Regions from separate parts of the Homo sapiens genome. Here regions 2 and 3 are each linked to region 1. The links are contacts of gene promoters, found by promoter capture Hi-C in blood cells and fetal thymus (Javierre and others, 2016). All regions are on one chromosome and are shown on one strand. The core of a region is centred on a gene start or on the middle of the fragment in contact, and the rest is flanking DNA. Distances in the headings are between cores, read along the strand shown.

What was found. Contacts are between HindIII fragments. The CHiCAGO score rates a contact against its expected background, and 5 or more counts as called.
Region 2: a fragment that was not itself captured here is called in contact with the fragment with the promoter of GRIN2C in region 1 in 2 of 17 cell types (naive B cells and naive CD4 T cells); the score reaches 5.4 in naive B cells.
Region 3: a contact is called between a fragment that was not itself captured here and the fragment with the promoter of GRIN2C in region 1, in 1 of 17 cell types (neutrophils). The highest score is 7.0, in neutrophils.

The regions. Positions count from the first base shown.
Region 1 is chr17:74,858,548-74,861,247 of GRCh38, forward strand. GRIN2C (glutamate ionotropic receptor NMDA type subunit 2C) reads right to left here and starts at 1,338. Exons shown (of 13, transcript NM_000835.6): 1 at 1,197-1,338. RefSeq lists an enhancer at 2,165-2,700. The HindIII fragment of the contact is 5,318 bases long and covers 1-2,700 here.
Region 2 is chr17:74,560,775-74,563,474 of GRCh38, forward strand. CD300H (CD300H molecule (gene/pseudogene)) reads right to left here. Exons shown (of 4, transcript NM_001405511.1): 3 at 2,060-2,123; 4 at 1-50. Among named protein-coding and RNA genes, the nearest start is that of CD300H, 5.4 kb to the right of the region's middle. The HindIII fragment of the contact is 9,141 bases long and covers 1-2,700 here.
Region 3 is chr17:74,435,118-74,437,842 of GRCh38, forward strand. The region is part of intron 1 of GPRC5C (G protein-coupled receptor class C group 5 member C); the gene reads left to right. Among named protein-coding and RNA genes, the nearest start is that of GPRC5C, 4.4 kb to the left of the region's middle. The HindIII fragment of the contact is 1,617 bases long and covers 593-2,209 here.

The DNA of each region.
Region 1 (2,700 bases), core at 88-2,587:
GTAGGAGGGACAAACTCCACTTTCCCCCGCCACAATCTCCTCCCTTGCCTCCCCCTCCCCACCTCCCACCTACCCACCCCCGCCAGCCCCACTGCACTGCTGAAGCCTTCCTCCAGCCACTGCTCCCTCCTCACACAGGACAGCTACACCCTGGTGCCCACAAATGAAGTCCAGACAGCTTAGTCCCATAGACAGAGCCCTCTGCACCCTGACCGCAACCAACCGTCCTCCCATCCCTGGAACCCACAGCTCTGCCAGTCTGCTGGCCAAACAGCCCCATTCTGCCCTCATCTCCAGGCCTCGTTCCAGCATCCCCCAGGCTGGAATGTCCTCATCCCAACAGAAGTCTACTCTCCTTCAGGGCCCAGCTGAAATCCCTCTCCCACAGGCACCTGCCTTGATGCCTCAGGCTCTAGGCGCAGGGACTGCGGCCAGGCTGGGGCACCTGCCCTTCTTCCCCCTGCCCTGGCTTCCCCTCCTGGGTGGGGAGCTCTGTGTAGTGGTCCCCTCCACCCCTCCATTCTGCCCTGCGGCAGGTGTGTGTGCACTCATTAACACCCTGCCCCACACTGGACTGCGGGCTCCTTGAGGGCAGACACATTGTCTCAGAGACCTCTGCCCACCCACCCACTCAGGGTCTCACCCCTTCCACAAACAGCCCTTAAACTAATGTTTGACAAACACAGAGATCCCCAAAGAGCCCCAGAGAGGATGGCAGTGGTCAGTCCTGCAGGACACAGCAGCATCTAGAAGGGTCTGAGCACCTTCCCAGGCTGGGGGCCTTCTCCTTCCCGGGTCCTCACAGCTCAGCCAGACCCCCTGGCACGGACCTGCACACACATGCACACTCCCGCACTCATACCCGCTCACATCTGAGATACCGATGGCTCTCCCTCTCCCAGGCTAGGAAACTCTGTCGCAGGAGTCCTCCCCACCCACCAGCAGAACCCCCGGACCCCCTGCCCTTCCGGTGAGCCGCCCCTCCTTTGCCGTCGGGTTTCCCTCCCTCCCTTTTGCCCAGCCAAAACCCGAACCCAGGCGCCAGGGGAGAGGACCGCCGTTCTAGCTTGCCCCACTGCTGGGGGCACGGAGTTCTTGCTCCTCCAAGGCTACGGCCCCCGTCTCCGCGGACCCCGCCCGGACTCCCCCTGGCCACCGGGACGCCCCGCCCCCTCCCCTCCGCAGCAATCTCTTACACTCGGGCTGTGAAGTTCGGGGTATTTTTAGGCCGGCGATAAATAATTCATAGGGAACGTGGCATCAGGCTCCCCCCGCGGGAGGAGGGGGCGCGAGCAGCGAGAGCCACCGTCACCCGCGGCTCAAGGACACTCGCGATGCGGCGGCGGCGGCGGCGGCGGCGGCTCCGGGCGGGGACCCGCGCCACGCCTCCTGGCGGCCAAGCTGAGCACCACGCACCCGGCGCCCCCCGCCCCACGCTGCCCCCCGCCGGCGTCCGCGGCTCCGGGGCCCCCACCCCCACTCCCCCAAGCTGGGTCGTGACCCCGAGTCCCGCAGTGGGGGGACCAAGCCAGCCTGGCAGGCGGCCCCAGTACCATCCCAGGCCCGCCCGGGGGCCCTGGGCGAACCCAGGTGTCCCGGACCTGCCTACCTGCCCCTGGCACGCTCTTATTCTTCGGGAGTTTAGAAACAGGCTCAAAGTCACTAGCACCGCCAAGACCTGGACGGGCTCTGAAATACAGCCAGCGGAATGGTACCCTCCCCAAATAAGTGTCTTTCCTCGATTTTCCTGTGGCCCGGGGTCAGGGACTGAACTAAGATAACGCCACCATCCGAGGGCTGGGGGACCGAGCCAGAAGTCCCCTTGGACGACCAGGGCTGGGAAACCGAGTGGACGAATGGGGTGGGCATCAGGGCCTGGCGGGAATTCCCGTCTTGCTCACCCAGCAGCTCCTTGCAGGGTCGCGGGACGCACCTGGGGGTTCAGGTTGCCGGGTGCCTTTGCTCCGCGTGTCCCCGCCCTGCCCGCGTAGGCAGGAAACAGGAGACTCGGGGCTTCCCCTCCCCGCCGTCGGGGATCCTGGGCGAAGCCCCCAGAGACCGGCGCAGGCGGCTGGTGCGCAGCCAGGGCCCAGCGCCAGGTCTTGCTCGCCCAGTGCCCTCTCTGCCTACCCTTCCCTTTGCGCTCTGGAAGCCCGGGAGCCGGGCACGGGCCAGCATCTGCAAGATGCCACTACTCTGGAAGCCCACTCCGATTCTCCCAGGTCGCAGGAAGGAGAGAGCTAGGCTGGGGCAAAGGAGATGGGGCAGAGCTGGAAGGGGAAGAAGCGGGACTCGCGGCGGGGGAAGGGGTCTGGGCGCCGAGGCGAGTGCGCAGCAGGTGCCCAGCAGACCTAGGGAAACTGGGGCACTGGGCTGGGGAGCCGCACAGCCCCCTTTCACCTTCTCGACTCCTTTCCAACCCCTCGCTCTGGTGGATCCCAGCCCCGGCCCCCACTCCCGGCCCTGTTCCCCGCTCTCCGCCCCGGCGGCTTCCAGCAGCAACAGTTTGGGTCCGCGGCAGCCCAGACTCCCCTGGTCCCGCGGTGCTGCCGCGCCAAGCGAAGGAGGAGGAGGGCTCGGCGACCCTGGGGACGAACGTCTTGGACGCTTCGCCCGCGTCCTTCTCTCGCGTCCGCCGCGCGCCTGTCTGCTCGGCCTCTTCTTCGCCTTCTCTCCGGCCGCCCGGGTCAAAACCCAAGG
Region 2 (2,700 bases), core at 149-2,648, 300 kb before region 1:
GCACCTTCAGGAGTGGGAGAAGCAGGAAGCAGGTGCTGCTGGGCAGGGACCTGTGAGACGGAGAGAGTGACTAGTAGTAAGCTGCCTTCTCCGGGGAGTCCCAGGCTCTGCCTCTCCCCCGCCTTCCCTCGAGGTCTCGTCCTGTGCCCTCAAACCCAATGTCAGCATCAAGCCTGGTGGGTACCAGGGTCAGGCAGCCCCATGCTGAGGGTCACAGGCTCCTGACCTTCATTCAGCTCAGAATTAACCTTGAGTGTCAAGACCCAACAGATGCCGGAGGTGAGGGATAGAGAAGAAGAGAGATATGTTAACCCAGGCAGGAACTGGCTCCCAGAAACAACTTCCTGAACAGATCCCTCAGCCACTGATGCCCGCAGGAACTCAGCTCTTGCTGGGAACAACCTCAAGGATGAAATACTCCTTTACAACCATCTTCACTCAAATTAAATATGATCACAAGAACAGCTCTTTTGCTTAAACGGCTTAACAATCTCAACCCCAAGGAGTGAACTCTCCAAGCTCAGCCCATGGCCAGTCGTCTCGCTCCGTGGGTCCCACTACACTGCTCCCATTCCAACTCCTCAGATGCTGCATTCTCTCCCCAAAATGGGCCGCTGTGCCATCTCTCCACCTTCCCAGCCCTCTACCTGCAGGGCTTGTCTGATGCCCTCCCTGATCCTCTCTAAGACGAGTCCCTGTAACAAACCCTGTTGGCGCCCTGCCCCATATCACCTTTGCCCACTTGAGCTCCTGGCAGCTGCAGGCAGTCTTGGCCCCACCAAGGATTTCCCAGCTCAAGCTCCCCATCTCTGCCTGAGGTTATCTACAAGAGTGCACACATTTTCCTGTGCAGAGCAGGCCAGATGGGCCACAGAATTCATGCCCCCAGGAGTGCCTGCTGCCTGGAAGACTCTGTCTCCAGTTCTGAGGAACGTTCTACACAGTCTCTCATAGGGTGCCCAGAGGGGTTAATCTCCAGTGACTCCAGTTACTACGGGGATAACCCCTTCATTACAGCACATTTCACCGCCCTTCCCCTTTCCTGGTCTCACTTTCTGCTCTCTCAATGTACTTCTTGAGATTACCTCTCAATAAACAAATTGCTCCTAAGTCCTTGTCTCAGGACCTGATTTGGGGGAAACCCAAACTAAGACAGTCCCTTTGTTCTTTGTTTCTGTGGAACATCTTGTATTTCCTTGATAGCCCAAATCATGCCCCACCAGCTTCCCACACACTCTGGCACCCTATCTCTTTACACCTGCTTTATTTTCCTCCACAGTAATTATCATTCGTTGACATATTTCCTTGATCTATCGTCTCTCTGTCTCTATTACATATCTCTCTCTGCCAGCTATCATCTCCATCTGTCTTTCCAGTCAGCCAGCCAGCCATCTCTATCATCTTTCATATCATATCTATCATCTGTCTGTTTATCTATCTATCCACCTATCTATCTATCTATCTATCTATCTATCTATCCATCTATCTGTCTGTCCACCTGTCTGTCTGTCTATCTATCTATCCATCTGGCCATTGCCTGAATCTACCTATTTGCAACTTCCTCAAGAGCACAATCTTGCCCCTTTGTTCACTGTTGCATCTCTAGAATCTCCATCAGTTTCTGGCGCATAACAAATAAACACCTGTTGGCCGAGCACGGTGGCTCACACCTGTAATCCCAGCACTTTGGGAGGCCGAGGCGGGCAGATCACGAGGTCAGGAGATCGAGACCATCCTGGCTAACATGGTGAAACCCCCGTCTCTACTAAAAATACAAAAAAAAAAATTAGCCGGGCCTAGTGGCGGGCGCCTGTAGTCCCAGCTACTCAGGAGGCTGAGGCAGGAGAATGGCGTGAACCCGGGAGGCGGAGTTTGCAGTGAGCCGAGATCGTGCCACTGCAGTCCAGCCTCGGCGATAGAGCTAGACTCTGTCTCAAAAAATAAATAAATAAATAAATGTTGAGTGGGTGAATAATCAAGGAAACCTGTGTCTAGGAAGCCCCACCCTAGGAAAGAAGCTGCACACATGGCAAAAGACACTGGGACACGTGCATTTTACCCTTGGCATTGGCTGGGCCTGGTGGGAGATGCAGGTGTCTTCACAGAGTTCTCAGTACTGGAGGCTGAGGATAAAGAACAGAGGTTCAGTGCCCTACGCCTGACTCTTCCCAGCTGAGTACCTGGTACCTGCATGGTTCTGACTTCATAAAGCAGAGGACGCTCAAGGAGGCAGCTGGACAGATGTTCTAGGACCATCGTCTTCCAATAGGCAGACCAAAGCCTGACTGGAGTAACAGAGCATCCCCCCAACCCCATCCCAATGGATGCCCTGCTCTGGGGCCGGGTGGGCATTTTATAAACCCAGACCAGAGGATGACCACCTTCTCCCATGTTGGTGTCCCCCATCTCGCTGAAAATCAACATGCCGAAGGTTAGGCTTAGGTTCCAAAACCCCCATCCTTGCCAGTGTATCCACACACCACCACTACCCTCCAGCACACACTCTCTGTCTCACACACACTCTCACACCTGCACACACACTCTCACATGTGCACTCACGCAACTTCACAAATACACTCACACGCCCACTCACTCACACACGCCTGCTCTCACACACACTCTCACATGCACACTCACACACCTGCTCTCACACACACACCTGCTCTCACACACACTCACACACACCTGCTCTCACACACA
Region 3 (2,725 bases), core at 151-2,650, 420 kb before region 1:
CTGAGGCAGGAGAATGGCATGAACCTGGGAGGCGGAGCTTGCAGTGAGCCGAGATCACGCCACTGCGCTCCAGCCTGGGCGACAGAGCGAGACTCCGTCTCAAAAAAAGAAAAAAAAAAGGCATTGGCTGAATGTGCACTCCCGGCATCAGAGGGCTGGAGCTGTGCTCTTCTGAGCTTCTCTTTAACTCTCTGAGGGTCCCTGTCCTAGGCAGTGGATGAGAGCCACGCCCAGAAAGCCCAGGTTTCCCACCTGAGTCCATGTATTTCTGTCTTCCCACCTGCCCTTCCATTTCTGGGGGAACCAGAGAAATAAGATATTTCAGGATGGGACCAGGTTGTTTCCTCTGAGGCTGTTAAGTTACTCAGCAACTTACTAAAAGCAGCAGCCTGGCTGCTGGGCAGCAGCATGGTACCTGGATGCGGTGAGGGGCAGGTACAGGCTCCTCTCTCATTCCTTGAAAGTTTCTATATTGAGGGGGTTGGCAGGAGAAGCAAGACTTGAAGGGTCAGGTGCAGAAGGAAGTTGCTGGTCACCAACCACAAAATCAGGGGGAAACTGGAGGTGGGGGCTTAGGGACAGAGAGCTGTGAAGCTTTCCTGACCCTAGCCCAAGTGCCTGTGGGCTTCTTGGAGCCAGCAGGGTACAGGCAAGTATTTCTAGGGCAAGATGGATCAAGAAGAATGAGTGACATTGGTCCCTGGCTTGGTTTTCTGTAATGACATGCCTGTTAGATTTGAACTTGTAGTATGGGCTTTAGTATCCTTTTCCCCCACCTCCGCCATCCAACCAGTCCTTCGATTGTTTTTTGGAAAGGATCTTTCAGAGCTGGCCATTATGGCTTTACCTTTGGCCTTGACCTTTAAACTGGAATGAATGTGCCCCCCAACAAATCGATTGCCTGTGCATTTTTGCCAGACTCTTTTCCTAAAAGCGCAACCCTGGCTATGCCCCCATGATGCTAAAAGCAGCCTTCAGTGGCTGCCTGTTGCCTTTAGGATAATGCCCCCAGCCCCACCCCTGTAGCATTTCCAATGTGTCAGCCAGCAGCTGCAGCCTCCCTTTGCAGACTCAGCTGATACTTGGCAAACTGAATTCTTTTTTAACTTGCTCTGGACTTGGGCTCAAAGGGCTTTGATTCACACCATCTTTTCTGCCTTGCACGTCCCTCTCCTTGTTCCCTTCACCTGCTCAGTCCTTCCTCACATTCTTCAGGGCTTAGCTTTTGGGTGTCCCTGTCTCTTGGCAGTGTCTGGGACCTGGTATGTTTTTTTATTAGATTCTGAGTAAAACTCTGCGGAACAGTCTTTCTCTACTCTGCCTGTTTCTCTTCTGTGTTCCTGTAGCCCCTGTCTCTCTCCTGCAGGTAAATTCCGTTGTGTGGCCCTTAATCATATTCTTCCTTGTGTAATTTTTGTGAGTACCTACCTTATCTCTCTTGATAGATTTTAAATGCCATCAAGTCAGGGACTACGTTTGTTCATGTTTGTATTTTCCACAGCTCTGGGAACAACAGGGCCTTTCCTTCCCAGGCGCACAGTCAATATTTGCTGATTTGGAGTAATTGCCTGTTCTAAACTGGGCCCTGGCCGAGGGAGGTGGGGTGAAAAGCCCTTGAAAGTGCAGGTGTCCGGAGTCTAAGTGGCAGTTCTGAGGGTTCTCTTCCCTACGTCCAGCTTCAAGCCCAAGTTCTGGCTGGTTTGGCTGTGGAGCCCAAGATGAAGTTGAACATTTAGGATCCCACAGCTTGTTGTTATCCATAAATTATCTCCCAGGAGTGGGTCCATATTACGCCTTCCCTTTTTTGTTGTTGTTGTTGTTGTCGTTGTTGTTTTTGGTTTTTGAGATGGAGTCTCGCTCCGTCACCCAGGCTGGAGTGCAGTGGCGCAATCTCGGCTCACTGCAATCTTCTGCCTCCCAGGTTCAAGGGATTCTTCTGCCTCAGCCTCCTGAGTAGCTGGGATTACAGGCGCACGCCACCACACCTGGCTAATTTTTGTATTTTTAGTAGAGACGTGGTTTCAGCATGTTGGTCAGGCTGGTCTGGAACTCCTGACCTCGTGATCTGCCCGCCAAAAGTGCTGGGATTACAGCATGAGCCACCGCACCCAGCCTACTCCTTACCTCTTAGCCCTCTCTTACTCCTCTTTCCAGCACTTGTAAATAAAATGCAGTTGGTGCTTTATTGATTTACAAAGTCCCCTACAGAAGCTTATTTAAGTCCTGCATTAGAAGTAAAGAGAAACTAGCCATTAGAACGCCAGTTATTTAGGAAAACAACAGTACATTTACATGAGATAGTTAATTTTAAGAGTTAATCTTAAGCAAGCTTAATTGAAAGATGAGGTAGCTGAGATGGCTAAGACGACCTAAATATTTTCAAGTGGCATGGAGACTATTTGAAGGGACTTTGAAAATGGATCCTCTTTATTGTGTCCATTTCACTTAATTTTATGAGTTGCATTGCCCCTGATTTAGTAAGTGTTCTTTCACATAACAATTATGGACAGAATTTTTTTTTTTTTTTGCTTCTGTGTTGAAAAGAGGGACAATTTCTATCAACTGTGGGATTTAGGGCTTTTGTTTGCCTATTAGAAATTAAGTAGCCAGGAATGGTAGAAAACAGTAAGGAGGTAAACCATGTATAAACAACCTCACAATCCCCCTAAAAAAGGAAAAAGGGTGGCAGCCTCACAGAAGAGAGTTAGATAATGCCATTCCCCTG